Linked DNA regions of Homo sapiens: region 1 is linked to region 2. Evidence: promoter capture Hi-C in human tissues and cell types (Jung and others, 2019). All regions are on one chromosome and are shown on one strand. Each heading gives the region's core, a stretch centred on a gene start or on the middle of the fragment in contact. The rest is flanking DNA. Distances are from core to core; before and after follow the strand shown.

Region 1 (4,446 bases), core at 38-2,537, 58 kb after region 2:
ATTTATAAGCATTTGACATCAGCTGTTTTGTATATTAATCATGGTACAAGCACAATGTGATTAATAGGCGTTAAAACCAATCACATATTTAAGGTCTAATAGAAAACAGCCACCGGCCGGGCACGGTGGCTCACGCCTCTAGTTCTAACACTTGGGAAGGCCAAGGCAGGTGGATCACTTGATCCCAAAAGTTTGAGACCAGCCTGGGCAACATGGCAAAACCCTGTCTCTACAGAAAATACAAAAATCAGTTGGGTGTGGTGGTGCGTGCCTGTAGTCCCAGCTCCTTTGGGAGGCTGAAGCAGGAGGATCAATTGAGCCCAGGAGTTGGAGGCTGCAGTGAGCTGTGATCGCACCACTGCACTCCAGCCTGGGTGACAGAGTCAAACCCTGTCTCAAAAAAATAAAAGAAAGTTAGCCATTAAATTTAATTCTCACCAGAAAAAAATAAGTAAAGAGTTTGTGATTTTAACATTGTTTCTTTTTTTTTTTTTTTTTTTTGAGACAGTCTTCCCCTGTCGCCCAGGCTAGAATGCAGTGGCGTGATCTCGGCTCACTGCAACCTCCGCCTCCTGGGCTCAAGCAATTCTCGGGCCTCAGCCTCCCAAGTAGCTGGGACTACAGGTGCCTGCCACCATACCTGGCTAGTTTTTGTATTTTTAGTAGAGATGGGGTTTCACCATGCTGGCCAGGCTGGTCTCAAATTCCTGACCTCAAGTGATCTGCCCACCTTGGCCTCCCAAAGTGCTGGGATTATAAGCGCGAGCCACTGTGCCCGGCCTGTTTCTTAAGTGAAATTATTTAGTTCCAACATCTGGACACAGAAGATTCGGTACCAAGAGTTCCACACGAGCAAGCTCCTAACATTCCCAAAATGATAAGCAAAGTGTAATGATAATTTTGAAATTATTTAAGAATTGTTTTTGGGCCAGGCGTGGTGGCTCACGCCTGTAATCCCAGCACTTTGGGAGGCCGAGACAGGTGGGTCACGAGGTCAGGAGATCGAGACCATCCTGGCTAACACAGTGAAACCCCATCTCTAATAAAAATACAAAAAAATTAGCTGGGCGTAGTGGTGGGCGCCTGTAGTCCCAGCTACTCGGGAGGCTGAGACAGGAGAGGGGCGTGAACCCAGGAGGCAGAGCTTGCAGTGAGCCAAGATCCCGCCACTGCACTCCAGCCTGGGAGACTGAGCGAGACTTCATCTCCAAAAAAAAAAAAATTGTTTTTGGTGCCAGATGTAGTGGCTCAAGCTTGTAATCCCAGCACTTTGGGAGGTTGAGGTGGGTGAATCCTGGCTGAGACCAGGAGTTCAAGACTAGCCTGGGCAACAAAGAGAGACCCACCATCTCAACCAATAATTTGAAAATTACCTGGGCATGGCGGCATGTGCGTGTAGTCTTAGCACTTGTGAAGCTGAGGCGGGAAGATTGCTTGAGCCCAGAAGTTTGAGGCTGTAGTAAACTGTGATTGTGTCACTGCACTCCAGCCTGGGCAACAGAGTGAGACCCTGTCACAAAAGAAAACAGAAATTGCCCAACAGTGTTCCAGAGTATCCCTTTACACTCCCACCAGCAACGCGTGACGATGCCAGCCCTTCCATAGCCTTGCCAGTGCTCACTGTTGGCAGCGTTTTGATCTCAGGCATTTTTTTTTTTTTGAGACGGAGTCTCGCTCTGTCACCCAGGCTGGAGTGCAGTGGCGCGATCTCGGCTCACTGCAAGCTCCGCCTCCTGGGTTCACACCATTCTCCTGCCTCAGCCTCCCGAGTAGCTGGGACCGCAGGCGCCTGCCACCATGCCCGGCTAATTTTTTCTGTTTTTTAGTAGAGATGGGGTTTCACTGTGCTAGCCAGGATAGTCTCGATCTCCTGACCTCGTGATCCGCCCACCTTGGCCTCCCAAAGTGCTGGGATTACAGGTGTGAGCCACCACGCCCAGCCAATCTCAGGCATTCTACTCAGTATATAATAGTATCTCATTATGGCTTGATTCATATTTCCTTAAAGATACTGATGTTACACAGTTTCACATGCATATTGGCCATTTGTATATCTCTTTTCTTATGGAATTCCAAATCTTTTGACATTTTTTTCTTGAGATGGAGTCTCGCTCTTGTCCCCAGGCTGGAGTGCAGTGGCACTATCTCGGCTCACTGCAACCTCTGCCTCCCGGGTTCAAGCAATTCTCCTGCCTCAGCCTCCTGAGTAGCTGGGATTATAGGCATGCGCCACCACACCCAGCTAATGTTGTATTTCATTATTTTAATTTGGTATTTGCTGGTGGGAGTGTAAAGTGATACTCGAGGATACTGTTGGGCAGTTTCTTTTTTCTTTTGTGACAGGGTCTCACTCTGTTGCCCAGGCTGGAGTGCAGTGGTGCCATCACAGCTCACTGTAGCCTCACCACGTTGGCCAGGCTGGTCTGGAACTCCTGACCTCAGGTGATCCACCTGCCTCGGCCTCCCAAAGTGCTGGGATTACAGGCATGAGCCACCGCGCCCGGCCTCTTTGACCTTTTAAACTGGAGTTTGGACTTCATGTGGTTGATAGGAGCTCTTCATGTGTTCCAGATGTAAGACTTGTGTCAGATATGTGTGTGCTGCAAATATTTTTTCCTAATCTGTCGTTTGTTTTCTTAATGCCTTCTTTAAGAGAAATGGTTAATTCACCGTCTTTTAAATCTATGATTTTATTGATCTATATTTTGCGATCATCTTTTGCAGCTAATTTCTATCTCCCAGCATGGAGGATGACGGCAGCCTGCTCCCTGAGGACGAGCTTTTGGCCGATGCCCTTCTTTTGGAAGATGGTAATAAAGCTTCTTTCACAGTAACGGAAGTTTCAGCAAAAAGACAAACAAATGACATGCTTCATAGTAGCCCTTTAATTCCCTTTATTTCTGGGAGAGGGTATCTTTTACACTCATATTTTTCTCTCAAAGAGGGAGCTTATATTATTGTCTTTATTTGAAAGAAAGATAAATTGTGGCTGAGATGTTGAAGGCGGCAGACCATAGTTTTCTAGTTTCCAACATCAGTATTGAGAAATCTGATGCCATTTTTATCCCAATCCTTTGAATGTGACCTATTTTTGTTTTCTTTTCCTGGAAGCTGTTTTTAAAAAATCTCTGATGATCTGAAATGTTACTGAGACGTGCCTTGATTTGGTTCTAGTTCTGGGCACAGGCAGGCCATCGCAATCTGGGAACGCATTTCCTTCCCACCCCCACCCCACTCCCCACCCCGTTTTGGGTTCTGTTGTGTGCTGAGTCAGCTCCTGGCGCTGTGTGGCCTTCTCCCCCCTGCCCCCCGCCACTGTCTCCCTCTCCCGCCCCCCTTGTGACTGTGGCTTTCTGCCTTTTCCATCATTTTTACTGAGATTTAATGAAGGGAAGAAAAACTGTGTTCCCTTTGCCGTGTTTTGCCGGAAGTCCGCTGTAATCTTCTGAGATAGTGACCTTCAGCCTCTTTTGTCTGAGAACCCCTTTACATTCTTAAAAATTATTGAAGACACAGAGAACATTTGTTTATGTTGCCTGTATCTTTCCATACTTACTGTATCAAAAATTAAAGCTGGAAACATTTTAATACGTAGCCACTTAAAATAGCAATAACGAACCTATTGGCAGTAACGTTAAGAGTTGGGTTTAATGGAAGACAGCTGGAGTCTTAGAGCTGTCTGTTGTGACGTCACCTGTCATGCAGCCTCTGGAAAACGCCACTGTCCTCTCATGGGAAGAGAGTGAGGAGACAAATGGCGTGCGAGTGTGATCATGAAGACAGTTTTCACCTCACAGGCCCTGAAGGACACTAAGGGACCCTCAGGGTTCCTCGGATTTTGCTTTGAGAACCATCAAGTTAGACTTGTCAAGATTTATCCTAACACTGGCCGGGTGTGGTACCACCAAGTTAGTGCGTGTCAAGATTTATCCTAACACGGGCCGGGTGTGGTGGCCCACGCCTGTCATCCCAGCACTTGGGGAGGCCGAGACGGGTGGCTCACTTGAGGTCAGGAGTCCAAGACCAGCCTGGTCATCATAGGGAAACCCTCTCTCTACTAAAAATATAAAAATTAGCTGGGCATGGTAGGACACATCTGTAGCCTCAGCTACTCGGGAGGCTGAGGTGGGAGGATCCCTTGAACCTGGGAGGCGAAGGTGGCAGAGAGCCAAGATCACGCCACCGCACTCCAGCCTGGGCAACAGAGACTCCACGTCAGGTTCATGACTACGCCGAACGTCATGTTGAGGTCCAAAGGGAGTGGGTGGATGAGCAGAAGGAACGCTCGGGGGCCGTAGGCAGGTGAAAAAGGATTTTATTCAGCAGCAGCTCTCCCCAACGGCTTTGTCTCACACCGTCCGCCCTGTCCTGGCTGGTTAGTCCGGCGGCTCCCACACACACAGCTGCGTGGCCGGCTCTCCCTTGACTTCAGGGTCAGCAGCTTAA
Region 2 (4,624 bases), core at 1,981-4,480:
AGGCCAGGTGGGTGGCTCCAGTAAAACCCCAGGGCTTGGGAAGTGTCAGGCCACCACCTCCAACCCTATCCCAATCCTGAATCAAACAGCTGCCCTGTGCCCTTCAGCAGGGGCGTCCAGGACTCAGCACCCAGCAGCCAGCTGGGCCGCCCGGGAGAGACTCCTGCGTCTCTGTTGGCCTCAGCACCAAGCCCTGGGCTTTGCACACAGAAGCTCCCTGAACACAAACGTTGTCTGAGCTGGGCCAGGCGCGGTGACTCACGCCTTTCATCCCAGCGCTTTGGGAGGCCAAGGCGGGCGGATCACGAGGTCAGAAGTTCGAGACCAGCCTGGCCAACAAAGTGAAACCTCATCTCTACTAAAACTACAAAAGTTAACCGGGCGTGGTGGCGGGCGTCTGTAGTCCTAGATACTAGGGAGGCTGAAGCAGGAGAATTGCTTGAACCTCGGAGGTGAAGGATACAGTGGGCCGAGACCACACCACTGCAGCCTGGGCAACACAGCGAGACTCAAAAAAAAAAAAAAGTCTGAGCTGAAAGAGGGAAGAGCCAGCACCAGTGTTTGTGGCCCTAGAAGAGCGGGCATCTGAGACTCAGCGTGGGAGTCTGGCCCAGGCCACCTGGGACTCCCTGAAAACACAGGTGCCTGGGGACCCCTCAGGCCCACAGGGGGCGGGGTGGGGTGGCGAGGATTGGATCTCAAGTGTGCTCAGAGGGCCCTGGGAGGACAGGCAAGGATGACGGGGTGGCCATGCCCCATGGGGGTGACTGAAGTGCTCTTCCTTTTTCTAAAGACTAGTCTTCCACGTGTCCACGCTCAGCTACCCCCACGGACAGCAGCGTCTCACCCCAGGGACAGAGTTTCTAGGGCTTTCAATAACCCAGTACTCATCCTGGCAGCCGCTTTCTGGAACTGTGTCATTGCCCTAAGGCCTGAGTGTCCCACCCCACAGCCAGTCCCCTCAGAGAGGCACCGGGTGCCCAGAGGGACGAGGAGCCAGAACGGGGAGAAGGGTACTTCACACTCTGCAGCAGAGAGGAGGAGGACCTGGGAGGGGAGAGAGGAGAGAAGGAATGGTAGGAGCAGGGAAGAGCCAGAGGGGAGACGTGCCCTAGAAGGGGGAGGAAGGTGAAGGAAGAGGTGTGGCAGGGAAGGGAGAGAGGGGAGAGCGGGAAGAGGAGGGAAAACAACAGGGAAGGAGGGAGGAAGAGGAAGGGGTGGGGAGAGAGGGGAGAGAGTCCGGGAAGGGAGGGAAGAGGAAGGGGTGGGAGCCTGGTCTCTCCAGCCTGGGAAACCAGAGTCACCGGGTGGAATTACACCCGCCCCACCACCAAAGTGCTCCCAGGGGCCAAAGCAAGGCAGAGGGAGGACGGGGCGGCCCAGAACTCCAGTGGCATTGCCTCCGAGCCTTGGTCCCAGGAATTGGACGCCGGAATGCAGGAGGGTCTGGGCCCCTGCAGCCCCTCGGGTGTGGACCTCCCTCTCGCAGGACTCCCCTGAGCTCCGCACCATCACCTGTTGCCCAGTGTGGTGGCTCCAGAATGGCAAGGAGACAGGAAGCCCAGGTCCCTGGACAAGTCCAATAGCCAGAACGTCAACCATACCAAGTTTTAACCTGCTGACCTCCAGGCCAAAAGACATGGCTGCCCTACCTCTTCAGGTAGGGCTGGACGGTCAGTCCCCCAGAAATCCCTTTCTTCTGGTTCTGGCACCAAACCCGGGCCACTGCACCCCGAAGGTTCCAGGTGCTTGCCACAGGGGAGCTGCAGAGGCCCCAACCTTCCCAAAGAAGAGACAATTGAGCCTCCTCAACAAACCCGGGGCCAAGCAGCCCCAGATGGCTGACCCGAGACCCCAAGACAAGGTTCGCAGGAAGCTGAACCCGCTCAGACTCGCAGGGCACCATAGAGACCCCCGGGGCACTGTCCTGAGAGGACGTGGCCCGGGGAAGTTGTCACCCGCCTAACCCTGCCGGCCGTCCCTGCCTCTGGGGCTCAGGTTGCCCACGCTGTAGCTGAGGACGCACCGGGGCAGGAGCAGCTTTTCGAGATCCCAAGGACCAGCCAGTGCAAGTCCGGAGCCCGCATTCTGCTCCCCTCCCTCTCTGCAGCAGCAGCCACCCTCGCGGGAGCGGAGGTCCCAGTTCGGGGCTCCTGGAGACGCGCACAGGTGGAAGAACAAACCCACGGGTCCTCCCCTCCCCACCGCCCACACTTCGGGGGGCAGCGACCCCTCCGCTGTGCCTGTGAGCCCGGCCACCTGGTGCAGCCCCCGCCACCCCCAGCAGCGCTGCCCCGAGGCGGCGGCCAAGAGTCCAGGACCCCTCCGCTCCAGCACCTGACCGCGCCCCCTCCCACAGCCAGGCAAGGGCCTCCGGGGGGCGGGTGCGACGCAAACCCCAGGGTCAGTCTCGGCCCCACCGTCTCCTCCAGAAACCCCTGTCCCCGCCCGACCGCCCCGAGCCCTGCCGGGGGCTGCATTGGAGCCACAGCGCCCGCGCCCCGGGTCTCCGGATTTTGGCTAAAGCGAGACCCCCGACCGGGTAAACGTGGAGAACGTTTAGGAAACGCTGATTTTAAGAAACCCGCCAGGAGTTTTCACAACTTGATGAAAACTTTCAGTCCTTACAGGTTTGCGGCCGGAACGTCCCCGCCCAACTTTCCAGCGAAAACGTCTACCACAATGACCGGGCCGAGGAGCTCGCGGCGCGGGGCCGACCCCAGGGAAACCCGGTCCCGGGGAAGGAGCCCGCGCTGTCCACGACGTGTCCGCGGGTGACGCTCACGGGCGGGGACCGAGGACCTCCCGCGACAGCCCCGGGCCCGCAGCGACCTCGCCGCCCCTTCCCTCTCTCCCTCTCGCGCAGGAGCCCCGACGGCTGAGCCCTCCCCGCCCTCCCTGCCTCACCCGCGCCGCTCCCCGCCCTCTCCGCCGCTCACCCCCCGTAATGCGCCTTGAGGCGGACGCGGCCGCCGCTCCCTTCCATCTTGGGGCCGGTCCTGCTGGGCATGGCGCGCTCCCCCCGCCGCCGTCAGCGCTGCGCCCCGGGAGCTCCGGCCATGGCGCGGGGCGGGGGCTCCAGGTGGGGCCGCGGCGGAACGCGGAAGGCAGCGCTCAGGACCGACGGCGCCGACCCGGTCAACTCCGCGGAACTCCGGCGGCGCGCGGGGCGGGAGCGGGGGGCGCGCGGGGCGGGACCGTCCGGCGGGGGCGGGGGGCGGTGTCCGAACATGGCGGACCGAGGTGGAGCCAGCGGCCAATCCGCGGGGCGGGCGGTCCCGGGGCGGGCGGTGGCACCTGCGGCCAATGAGGGCGAGGCGGGGCCGCCACCTGGGCCAATCCTCGGGGGACACCCGGCCGCGGCCCAATGGCGAGGCGCGGGCGGGGCTACCTGTCGGGCGGGGCTACCTGTTGGGCGGGGCGCGGCGCACCTGCGCCAATGGGACCGCGCGCGGCGCGGCTCTGCCCGGCAACCGGAGGGGCCCCGGCCTCTGGGACGGAGCGGCGCCCCCGGGAACTCGCTGGAAACGCGAGTTCTCGGCCTTCGCCCAGACCCTCCGAATCGAAACTCCTGCGGCGCGCGCTGCCAGCCCGAGGGCCCCGCCGTCCAGGGGTCCCCTGACATCTCACACTTGCGGACTGAAGCTGCGAGGAGCGGAGAACCCGGCCAGGGTCACGGACGGGAGCGTCCGGACTCGGGTTCTCTGGGCCCCAGCCCCCACTCCGCCCCCAGCGAATCCAAGGTCCCCTGTAGGGAAGGGCCGTCCACACTCGTGAGTGCAACCGCTCACTTCGCCCAGGTCAAGGACGCGGCATTGGCCCGAGTCGCCCATGACCTTCATTTCTGAAGCCACAGCCTCTCGGGCCTTACTCGAGGGGCTTGATCTGGACAATCGCCCTCCAGGCCCCTCCACCGCCGCCCAGCTCCCTGCCTCCTGGGCTCCTCCCCTGAAAATACGGTTTTCCCTGATCAGCCCATCCCTTACTGGCTGCATCCACTGAAGCCCAGACCTGCTGCCTGCAGGACCTCACCCAGGCACCAGGTGGACACCCAGACCCAGTTCCTGGCCTCGGCCCCTCTCCCCTGAGAGTGGACCTGCTCAGGCCACGCCCTCACACCCCTCACCCAGACACAGCCACCAGGACTTCAGCCACGTGCTTTCATCCCGCAGGTCGTGCCTGGCGCCTCCTTGATGCCAGGCCCTGGGGAGACCTGTGGCCACAGAACCCATGTTCTCCCTGGAGATGGACAGGAGGCCCCTCTCCTACGCAGAAGCTGTCGTTTTTTCTTCTTAAACACCGTTTGCCCCTCCCTCCACCCACCGAGCCATCTCTGCCCCTCTCTACAGCAAAGCTTCCGCCAAGCCGGCCCTGCTCCCTGTCTACCTCTCCTGCCACCACCCACTCACACGTTTTAAATACAAGCCGTCGGTTCTCAGACGTTTTCTCTTTTTTTCTTTCTTTTTCTTTTTTTTGAGATGGAGTTTCGCTCTTGCTGCCCAGGCTGAGTGCAATGGCATGATGTCGGCTCACTGCAACTTCTGCCTCCTGGGTTCAAACCATTCTCCTGCCTCAGTCTCCCAAGTAGCTGGGATTACAGGTGTCCACCACCATGCCCAGCTGA

What was found. Contacts are between HindIII fragments. The study calls those that stand out against the background at their distance.
Region 1: a fragment that was not itself captured here is called in contact with the fragment with the promoter of PRKCZ in region 2 in 7 of the 25 tissues and cell types used here (H1 embryonic stem cells, IMR-90 fibroblasts, dorsolateral prefrontal cortex and 4 more).

The regions. Positions count from the first base shown.
Region 1 is chr1:1,989,254-1,993,699 of GRCh38, reverse strand. It overlaps CFAP74 (cilia and flagella associated protein 74), which reads left to right. Exons shown (of 39, transcript NM_001304360.2): 2 at 2,725-2,810. The coding sequence starts at 2,744. Among named protein-coding and RNA genes, the nearest start is that of CFAP74, 12 kb to the left of the region's middle. RefSeq lists a silencer at 4,277-4,446 and an enhancer at 4,145-4,446. The HindIII fragment of the contact is 5,694 bases long and covers 1-4,134 here.
Region 2 is chr1:2,049,017-2,053,640 of GRCh38, reverse strand. PRKCZ (protein kinase C zeta) reads right to left here and starts at 3,230. Exons shown (of 18, transcript NM_002744.6): 1 at 2,940-3,230. The coding sequence starts at 3,010. It overlaps PRKCZ-DT (PRKCZ divergent transcript), which reads left to right and starts at 3,571. Exons shown (of 3, transcript NR_135509.1): 1 at 3,571-3,773; 2 at 3,975-4,043; 3 at 4,173-4,440. RefSeq lists a silencer at 3,043-3,652. The HindIII fragment of the contact is 14,073 bases long and covers 1-4,624 here.